Linked DNA regions of Homo sapiens: region 1 is linked to region 2. Evidence: promoter capture Hi-C in human tissues and cell types (Jung and others, 2019). All regions are on one chromosome and are shown on one strand. The core of a region is centred on a gene start or on the middle of the fragment in contact, and the rest is flanking DNA. Distances in the headings are between cores, read along the strand shown.

Region 1 (5,359 bases), core at 2,701-5,200, 1.0 Mb after region 2:
CTCCTGACCTCAGGTGATCCACCTGCCTCAGCCTCCCAAAGTGCTGGGATTACAGGCGTGAGCCATGGCACCCAGCCAAGTAATATTTCATTGTATGTATAGACCACGTTTTGCTTCTCCGTTTATCTGTTGATGGACATTTGCATTGTTTCTGGGTTTGGCTTTTATGAATAATGCTGCTCTGAACATCCAAGTACAAGTGTGTATGTGATATATGTCTTTGTTTCTATCGAATATATATCCAAGAGAGTAGAAGTGGCTGAGTCATATGGTGAGTCATATGCTGGGTCTTATGGTAATATGTTTAACTTTTTGAAGTGGGGGAGAATAGGATCTGGAGGCAGGAAACCTAAGGCTGATTCACCCTGACTTCCTAGAACTAAATCAAAAGAAAAATCCCAGCTTTCCATGCCCAAGTACCAAAAGGACCAGAGGCTACTCTCTTTGCAAACCCCCACCTTTTCTGCAAGGCAGATGGAAAATTGGAAGTACCTCTAATTGGTTGCTTTCTGCAACCAGACGTTTGCATAGGAAGGTAGCTTTGTAACTTCAGCCTCTGACTGTAGGCCAAGTCTTCATTTGCATAGGAGTGCATCTTTGTAACTTCACTTTAGCTTCTGATTGGTTGCTTTCCGCAACTAATCAGACTGATTGCAGGCCACCACTTCATTTACATGGGGTGAACACCAAGTGGCCAATGGGAAACCTCTAGAGGGTATTTGGACCCAAGAAGATTCTCTATCCGGGGCCCTTGAGCTGCTGCTTGGGCCGCTCCCACGCTATGGAGTATACTTTCATTTTCAGTAAATCTCTGCTTTCGTTGCTTCATTCTTTCCTTGCTTTGCTGTGCATTTTGTCCAATTCTTTGTTCGAAATGCCTAGAAACTGGACAACCTGCAGTCAAGACCCTCCACCAGTAACAGAAGAACTACCGATTTTTTTTCCCAAAGTGGCTGCACCCTTCAATATTCCCACCATCAGTGTAAGAGAGTTCCAATTTCACCACATCCTCACCAACACTTGGTAGTATGTATGTTTCTGATAATAGCCATCCTCTTGGGTATTAAGAAGGCTTTCATTCTGGTTTTGGTTTGCATTTCCCTAATGACTAGCGATGTTGAGCATCTTTCCATGTGCTTTGGCCATTGGTATACCTGCTTTGGATAAATGTCTATTCAAATTATTTGCCCATTTTTAAAATTAGGTTGTGTTTTCATTATTGAATTGTAAGAATTCTTTATATATTCTGGATATAAGTCCTTGTCAGAGACATGATTTGCAAAGATTTTGATACAGACAACATTTTTTGTGCATTGTTTTCCCACTTTCTTGATAGTTTGTAGCACAAAAGTTTTTAATTTTTAATTTTTTATAGAGACAGTGTCTTGCTATGTTGCCCAGGCTGGTTTCGAACTCCTGACGAAAGTTTATCATTTTGATGAAGTCTACTATATCTGTTTTTTCCTTTTGTTGTTTTGTGCAATTGATGCCATATTTAAGAAGACATTACCCAAAGTCATGAAGATTTACTCCTGAGTTTTATTCTAAGAGTTTTAGTTGGACCTATTTTGACCTACTTTATGTGTATTATGTGAGGTTGGGGAACTGACTTTATTCCAGATATCCTATCTTTACCAAAGGCTTGAGTGTCTATTACTGAATGAAAATTGTTTTAGATTTTTGACAAGTGTGCTTGAATTTCAGAGCAGGGACTTGGGCTCAGTATCTTTGAGGTAGGTAGCAAATGATTCCTTTTCACAGTAAAAACAAATAAAAACCTGATCTCTTTATTTGTTGAACAGTTTCTTCTTTTCTGTCTTTAGTTCTCTCTCTTTGTCAAAATACTGAACTTTCCAAATCCTTATCTTTTCTTTAGTTTCCTTTCTTTTTCACTTGCCATTATATTGTAATATTGCAAGCACATTCCTATATTAGAACACACACACACACACACACACACACACACACACACACACACACACACGGCCCCATTTCTCCCACTTCTTCATCTATCCTGTGCTTTCGTTACCGTTCTCTAGGTCAGCCCAGGGTTCTGGTCAGCAAATGAGCCTGATGCCATCACTCTCTCATTCACCCCACATCTCTTTGGGGCAAACCAGAACCCTCACCAGACTGACCTCCAGTTTAGGCTCTGCTGTGTACTGAACATGTAGATCTGAGGAAGCAGCATCCACGTCAGGCACCATGCATAAAAGGGAGGGTTGGATGGGATCGATCACAGATATTGGAAGGATATGATCCCTCTTCCGATCACTCACAGTGGGTCTTTGCTCACCTCAGGTGTGTATTGACCTTACAACAAATTGCACAATGGGTCCCTCCCAACCCGAGGCTACCTTCCTTTCTCTTGGGTGAAAAATTGCAGTTAGAATGAAGTGCAGATCCCTCTCCAAGGCCTGCGAGTCATGTGAGCCACTCACCTCCCTTGGCCACTGTCCTCTGCTTGCTGGGTGCATCTGGCCGGTTTCTGCTCCTGAGCCCTGCTGGGGGCCTGTCCCCAGGTCTGCTTGAGGCTGTCCTCCCCCTAATGTCTTGGCGGGCAGGCCTCAGCCTCGGGAGCGTTCTCTGAGCACCTAGGGAAGTCACAGCCCTCACCTCAGCTTCTTCACTCTTGATCCTGTGGCAACATGTGCATCCCCTCAGGCCCTGCTGCTCCCTTGCACCTCCTGTCTGTGTCCCCTGCGGGTCAGCAGGTCAGCCTGGAGGACCGGGACCCTGCCTACCTCACTGGCAGTGCATCTCCCCATTCCAAGCTGGGACTGGCACTCGGAAGGAGCTCAGATAATGCCTCTTAACTAGGCGTTTTCCTAGGTACCCATGCAGCCTCTCTTTTCCTTTCCTTTGGCTTCCGCCTGTCCTACAGGGATCACTAAGGGAGCAGTCAAGGTTGGGGAGCATGGGTGGAGGGGGAGGCGGATGGCCCTTCAGATCAGTTCCATAGCGCAGCTCGCAGATGACAGGGGACAGATGGGAGCTCACCGCGGGCTTGCCAGGCCAGACAGCGAGTGAGGACGCCAGGGACAAGTTAGCAAGGCCAGTTGCAGCCTGGGTCCCGCACCTGCTCTCAAGGGCATTGAGTGCCCTCTTCTGCTGAGCTGAACCCACCTGCATGTAGGGGCGAGTTGGGGGGTGGCCGGTGCCAAGGGTGTCAGGAGTCAGTTACTGGCCATGAGGCCTGCACAAATCACTTCCGCTGCCTGCATCTGGGATTGCCCCTTTCTCAAATCAGCATGAACAGTGCCCATCTCCTAGGTTATTATGGTCAGGGTGAAGTCATTTTAGACACGGAAGTCCTGAGAATAACACCTACAACTAAAGGCGTGAGTTAGCTGTTATTATCACATGAAGGTGTGAGTTAGCCGTTATCACATGAAGGTGTGAGTTCGCCGATATTACATAAAGGTGTGAATTAGCTGTTATTCCATGAGGAGAAGAGAAAACGAGTAACACAGAAGTGATGCAGGCAGCCCCTCTCCCCAGGCACCCGCCCCAGGGCCTCTGCACTTTGCATACAGCTGGCGCCCAGCCCCTCTCAGAAGTCACCGAGCTGACAGCACAATGGGGCAAAGAAAGGAGCGGCTGTGAACAAACACTGAGCTGACGACCACGGCCTGGGGTTCCTATTGTCCAGGCACATTCTCCTCACGCCTCCCCACTTCAATTTTTTATTTTAATTAACATGACTAAACTGGGCACCCAAGGTCTTTGTCCTCATCTCAGCCAGCCTAACCTGCAGGCTCTTCGGGAACATGGTTGGGAGAAGCGATGTTCTCCCAATTAGAAATACAGGGTTTTGCACAAAGTGACAATCCAAGGACCATTTTCATTTTCATCATTTTCAAATCAAAAGCATTTTCCAGCCTCCTTCTGAAGGAAAGCAATGGGCACGCGGGACCCTTAAACAGACTCCTTACAGAGGCAGATGCCTGTCAGGTGGACCAGGTAGGACCGGGCACCCTCATTCAGCAGCAGGATTGGATTAGCTTTCTGTCCTCTGGCGAGGTCACCCGAAGCCCAGCTGCGAATGCAAATTTGCAGTGAGAAAGGGTGCGGTTTCCAATCTCCACCAGTCAGCAGGAGAGCCAGTTACCTAGGTGACAGACTGTGCTGTTTTCCTGGTTAAATTCACAGGAAGGAGAGGAAGGGGAAAATATTTAAACGAGCCTGAGCCTTGAGCTAACCCTCCTCCCTGGTGAAGCCTGATCTCCAGCCATCGCTGAGAATTGTGGACCACATTTTAACCTGTTCTCTCACTTCCTAATCCTTCTTCCAGTCAATGCCATCGACTGCAAGTTTGATTGTTCCTGGTGTATTTTTCAATTTATATCAACAGGCAAAAAAAGCAAAAGGCAGCAGGGCAATTTGTGTTTTCACAAGTGAGTTTTATTTGCTTCCTTTGTAGCAATTAATGCTAAATTCTCAGGTTACAATACGAAAAAGAAGCTTGTATGAGAGAGTAATGACTGCTCTTTCTCTGTCTCAGATTATAAAGAAGTAGCAATACTTGAATAACTGTAAGGCTGTGGTTTAAATGTATCTATGTATCCATTTATGTACCTACACAGACATTACGGCTATTATATACAATTTTCTTCCTTCCTTCCCTTCCTTCTTCCCTCCCTCCCTCCCTTTTTCTCTTCCTTCCTTCCTCTCTCCTGCTCTTTTTCTTGGCAGACACATTCAGACTGAAATGTCCCCTGTCCTCAAGCACTTCACAATCTAGTTGGGAGACAGACCAAGAAGTAGCTATGTCTCAAATGCCAAGCAGTCTTCGCCAGCCCACTGAGTCAGGAAAATCACATTAAGATAGACAACCCACAGTTTCCATTCTCACCCCCTCCTCCTCCACAGGACCTCACTCCCAAGTCCCCTCCCCTCCGGGGCGGCTGATCAATAAGGCAGGCTGGACAAATCGAGGGACAAATAAATAAATGAACAAAAATTATATAGGGTCCAATCAGGTATGCCTTGATATAGGTATGAATATATTCCTGAAAATTGGTTCAATTCATTTAGATCATCTATTTTAAAACATAGGAAGAGAGCTTACTATTTAAAGTAACTTAATAGTGAATCATTTTGTAAAGCACGGAAATTACTTTCATTTTGTAATGATCATGATTAACTTTATTTGGCATGGATTATCACATATGGATTTTTCGTTTTCTTTTTGTTAGAGACAGGGTCTTACTGTGTCAACCCAGACTGAGTGCAATAGTGTGATCACAGCTCACTGTAGCCTTGAACTCCTGGGCTCAAGCGATCCTCCTGCCTCAGCCTCCTGAGTAGTGGGGACTATAGGCCTGTGTCACCAAGCCTGACTAAATTGTTTTATTTT
Region 2 (5,459 bases), core at 51-2,550:
CCGATGATGGGAGCCTGCCGGAGGTTCCACAAGAGCCTAGAGGAAGCCTAGAGACGCTGGCACAATTCAGTCCTCACCGAAATCATTTCCTCTTTCTACAGTTCTTGTACCCCCATCTTGACAGATCAGTTCGCACAAGAATGCGACCCTTTCGCTGCCCTTTTTTAGGAAATGGTTTTCATGAGACCAGCTTTGCCAATGACACGGGCGGGTACACCAGATGCTAATGGCTGCTGAAAACGCCCTTAGAACCGGCTCTTCTTTTAGAAGAAGGAATTCTGGAATGCGGAGTGGGCCCCCGAAAGGAAGCGACCCTACGTTTATCTGAATTCCCAGGGGCGGTTCGCCAGCGGCTCCCTGCGTCCTCGCCGGGTCCCCTGTCTGCAGTCCCCGGGCCGCACGGATTGACTGCTTTTTTGTTTCTGGCTGCTTTAAGGCTTCTTCGGGCGGAGAAAACCCCACTTTAGGGGAGTGATGGTGGGGAGGACTTTCCCAGGCAGCTTCTTTCACCCGCAGCAGGGAAGTTTGCAGGGCGCGCTCCGCACAGGTCACTGCCTCACCTTCCACCCCGGCCGCGCCCTCGGCTTTCACCCCCTTGGCTGGGTTCGCTTTTGGTTTTATTTTTCTGTTTTACGTGAGTAAATCAATTGCCCCCAGGAGGCAAAAGAGCACTCAGCGACTTGGCTGAGCAACTTAAACTTTCTGCCGGAAGGAAACTATCAAAAGCGGAGGAGAAAGCCCTCGGGGCCCCAGACTCGCCGCCACTGCCCCGTCCCCGCTGGGGGTCCCCGCGAGGTCGCCGCGGATCCGGGGACTCGCGGGCCGGGAGGAAAGAGCGGAGTAAGCCCGGGGCAGGCTCGGACCCGGACCCCGGCAGGGTGAGAGCGGGGGCGGACCAGAGGGGCGCACGGACGGCGGGGAGGCGGAGAACAGGCGGGGTGCGGAGAGCGAGGGGCGCGGAGAGCGAGGGGCGCACGGACTAGGGGAGCCAGGGGGACCCGGGGAACCAGGGGGCGCGCGGACGAGGGGGACGGGGGCTACGAGAGGGGTGCGGAGAGCGAGGGGATCACGGGGACTGAGCGCGCAGGGAATAGGGGAGCGAAGGGGCGCGAGAGCGCGGGCCGGGGTCCGCCGGCGGGTGGCGGCCAGGACTCACCCCGAGAAGGCACACTTTGAGCTCCCGTATCGCCATCATGTGCTCGCAGCCAGGCAGTGCCGGGGCTCAGCAGCATCCTCCGGGGCCGCCGCGCCCGCGCCCCGCCGGCGTCTCTCGCCTCTGCCCCTCGCTCGCGCCGCCCGCGGGCGGAACCGCCGCCGCTGCTATTTCTGGGCCGCCGGCCCCGCCGCGGTGGGTCACGTGGCCGCCGGCCGGCTCCTCCCGGGCGCGTCGGGTCCAGCCTCGCCGGCCCCCAGCTCCCAGGAACGCCCCCGGACGGCGTCAGCCACCCGGGACCTGCGGCGTCGCCGGCGGATTGCCTCCGCCCTCGGACCAGCCCCGCGCGGGTCGGCCTCCCCCAGCGCCCTCCGGCATCCGCCCCTCCCGGCCCCGCCTGGCCGCAGGGCCCGGGTGGGTAGGAAGGACTGGACCGGCCCTGTGGAGACCTGGCCCCACTACCAGCGGGTCCCTGAAGATGCCATTCTCATCTGGAAAGCGAATGCTCTCGGCCGAGGCCGTTTGCGTGGCAGCGCGTGGAGGTCTGCGGGGGTCCCATCCTCAAGCGACATTCTGGGTCCCACGCAGAAAAAGTCAGGCCACTGAAGGGGCCGCTGTGAGGACAGGGGTGAGGAGAAGGGGGCTAACTTTTCGGCCTGCCTTTCTCGACGTTCCTAATACCCGAGCTTCCGTTTAACATATGTGTGGCTCTTCAGCTCAGCCAAGTTCATTTTTCTGTATGCAGCTGAAAATGATTCTAGAAGCAAAACTCGCTGTCCGTGTCTGAAACGGGAAACTTGCTTTCTGGAGCAAAAGTCTTTTTCTCAGTAGAGCAAATCCTGCAACTCGTGTGGGCAGAAACCCAGTCCTCAGAGGTACAGGTAGAAACGTGGAGATCCCAGCAGACCCCTGCATCGTTCCTAACTGGGAAATGAGCAGAGTCTGTGGCCGCACACAGTCGGGGAGGCTTGGGTAACTGTGTTCTCTTCTCCATGTATGGCCTAGAGCACCTCATCCACTCGGATGACTTCATTCGTTGCTGCTACAGAAATGTCAGCCTTTTCAATGTAATCTATCTGAACAATTCACTGGCATTTCAGATGGGAAATGTTTTTTTAAAAACTGATTTTTTGAAACTTCATCTCCTATCCCAAACTCTCAGGCCTCTCTCTTAACCTTCCAATTTTAATCAATGGCATTTCCATTCTCCTAGCAGACCACCCACCGTGATCATCTGGCTTTGTTCTTACGGAAGCCAGGTTGAAGCTACCCAGTACCCAAGTAGCCCCATCCAATGGGAAATTCCAAATCAAGGCCTCCAAAGAGATAAGTCCTGGAATACAGGAGTCAAAATGGGCCCCGAAACAGACAATTCACAATTAAATTCCCCAGAAGAGCAGGAAGTTTGCCCTCGAGGTGCAGGCTTGTAGAGATTACTCAAATGGACTAAACTGTACAAAAGGCAGCCATGGACAAGTTACAGGTCCATTGTATCAGTATCCGTCCTTGACTCTGTATCCAAAGCAGAGTCTTCTATGTGGGCAGGGTAAAAAGAGGCTTCCCCAGAATCAAACAGTCCTGATCACAATATCTCCCTGCCCTCAGATTTGCTAATCAGAAAACCACCCCTACACAGTTGCAAAGACACCTCCCCCAAGGCCTTCGCCAGCCCTGAGGGCACCTCCACAGTGAAACATGTCCTTTTGGCTTTCCAGCTTGATTCCCAAAAGCCAGTCAAACCAGGGTGGAAGCCTCCACTGTGTTCTACATCCCGTGCAGTGAGTGGAGCTTTGTGAAGTTGCCTTAGATTGCTAAGGGCAGAACTGTGCCCAGACAGAAATAGGCAAACCGAATTTCTCTTGTGTTCCCTTACTCTTTTTCATGACTGCTCTCATTCTGCTCTCTTCTCCACTAGCCCGGGTGTCTGGGACGCTTGCGTCGTTTCTAGGCTCTCCCAAAAGAGTCTCGTATCCAGCCCTTCCCTCCCTGAGAATCGCCCCAGTCTATTTGTCCTTCTCCCCTCCCCTAGTTCTGTTAAAAATGACCTCATTTGTGTCTCATTCTGATCAGGTCTTGGGCTCTTCTTTACAAAGTGGCAATCCTAGTCTGTCAACTGACTCGTGTTCATGGGTTTATACCCTCTTCCCAGCCAGGTCACCCCTGAGCTTAAACATGGCCTCATGAAAACCAGGTCCCCATGATCACCCTAAGGTAACCTACAAAGCTCTAGCCCTGGAAGGCAGGAAGATGACTGCTGGGAGACATATTTTAAGAGTGACACGTCAGAGGCAGCTCTCGACTTTTTAAAAAAGTGCCATGTTCTCTATTGTTACACTCTATGATTACTGTACTAAGGGCCCATCCTGACTTCTCTGGAATTTTCTGCAAATATGTAGTTCTGGTGTAACTTCAGCAGGGGTAAAAATTCAATGGTACATAACTGACAATTTATCAAATTAAGAAATAGAACATGCAAGTTTTTCTTATAAGAATTTTGTAACGTAAATGGTCATTGTGCTAATTCAGACCTCAACTTCTCTGCTGCTATAAAGTCTCCAACAGAAAAAGCCAGTAATGGTCATAAAACTGATCATGTTTTTTGATTCAGGAAATCCTTTTTTGAACAATAACATACAAAGACGAAAAGTAAACAAAGCTGCCTGTTTGAATATAAACACATATGCAGACAAAAAAAACAAATAAATGGGTTAGAGAAACAACAACAAAAAAATTACATCCATGGAGGTAAAGGGAGGATTGTTGCGTTAATTGTAACTCAAACCTCTTAACACTTGAGGAATGATTAAGCAAGCTAGGGTGTCGTTACTGGGTATATTTGATGGTGTACAATAGTATATGTTACTTAGATATTAAATGAAATGTGTATACTATGTAGATTTATAGAGACGTTTATAGTAAATAAGGTTCTGTGAAAATAATATGACTCAAAATGTTAAATAGGATAAGCAATATAAATGTGTCACAACGCCCTGGAGTGCAGGCTGATCCCTGGAGACCAGTACTGAGTCATCTGGTCTGCTCAAGGGCCAATTAAGGAAAGATAAAAATGTTTACAAACCTTGTTTTTCATAATTTATCTTTTTTATGGAACTATAGTGTCTGCAATATCAGTTAAACAGCCTTTTAGTATTTCTCATTTATGTAACAACTCCTTCCTTCCTTCTTTCCTTCCTTCTTTCCTTCTCTTTCTGAAACTTTCTAAATAGCATGTGCTACCTAACCTTATTTGTAACCCACGCCCTTTAAACAAATTTTGAGGAGATGAATCCTGGACATACCAGGGTAGGAAAGGGATTTGAGGGATTTAGAAAAACAGAGGTGAGTGGACCCCACAATTCACCCACAGACTTGAAAAAGGAGACAATAGCTGGAGGGGGGAGGCTGGAAACTGAAGGAGCCTGTCTGTGGGAAAGGGAGCGTCCCTGAGAACCCCAAGGAAGGTGGCTGCTCGGTGGAGGGGCTATTAGGTAAGCGGATAGAAACTGCACAGCCTCCTTTGCAATTCCAGATGTCTTCATGTGGAAAGTGTGGTGACATCTTAGATGGGAGATGGGGAGGGTGGGGGCTCGCCTCCTCATCGTCTCCATCGCCTCAAATGGGAGTGCTCAGAAGTGTTCCAGAACAAGTAGACAGCTCTCACTGAAGACAGGGAAGGCTCTGTTGGGATCTCACAAAGGATTGGTGTCAGGTGATAATGTTTAAATTTTCCAGATTCCTGAGAGCCAGCACTGGGCAGCTTAAGCCATCCTCAGCATCCAACTGGCCTCTTTACTGACACTCCTGCCTAGCAACCTCCACTGTCCCTTGGATCTCTGGCTGAGCTTAAAGTGTTGGGTTAAAAGAAAATAAGCAATAAGATATATATTAACACCTCCCATGGAAGGTAAACGGATTGATTCAGCTGTGACCACCTCCCGAAAGCCCTAAGTAACATGTAATTCAGTCAGTCCTGTTCATTTTCATTGCTTACTTGTAAAACTGAGAAATTAAACTACAATGATGCAGATCAAAGTCACCACAACCCCAGTTTCGTTTCATAGACTGTCTTGGGTTATTTCTTCTGGCGAGTCAGAAGTTTTCCTGCAATTGCTCAGAGTAATACACGGAGTTTAGGATTTCTTTTTCTTAAAAGGAGTTGTGTTTCACTTTTTTGTACCTTGATATTATTTGCTCTCAAACTAAAAATTGGTTTAATTTTAGATGTTGGCAACGATTCTCATATCACAGGGATTTCTATGTTTAGCTGTTTACCCACCCATTCGGCAAATAGCAGACACTGACTGTG

The links. Contacts are between HindIII fragments. The study calls those that stand out against the background at their distance.
Region 1: a contact is called between a fragment that was not itself captured here and the fragment with the promoter of RAB31 in region 2, in 1 of the 25 tissues and cell types used here (lymphoblastoid cells).

What each region holds. Positions count from the first base shown.
Region 1 is chr18:8,660,679-8,666,037 of GRCh38, reverse strand. No RefSeq gene overlaps it. Among named protein-coding and RNA genes, the nearest start is that of RAB12-AS1, 27 kb to the right of the region's middle. RefSeq lists an enhancer at 3,187-3,771. The HindIII fragment of the contact is 5,249 bases long and covers 1,326-5,359 here.
Region 2 is chr18:9,704,142-9,709,600 of GRCh38, reverse strand. It overlaps RAB31 (RAB31, member RAS oncogene family), which reads right to left and starts at 1,300. Exons shown (of 7, transcript NM_006868.4): 1 at 1,157-1,300. The coding sequence starts at 1,195. It overlaps LOC124904244 (a long non-coding RNA gene), which reads left to right and starts at 1,629. Exons shown (of 2, transcript XR_007066281.1): 1 at 1,629-5,459. It overlaps LOC105371981 (a long non-coding RNA gene), which reads right to left and starts at 929. Exons shown (of 2, transcript XR_935131.2): 1 at 1-929. RefSeq lists silencers at 706-935, 1,036-1,605. The HindIII fragment of the contact is 12,091 bases long and covers 1-5,459 here.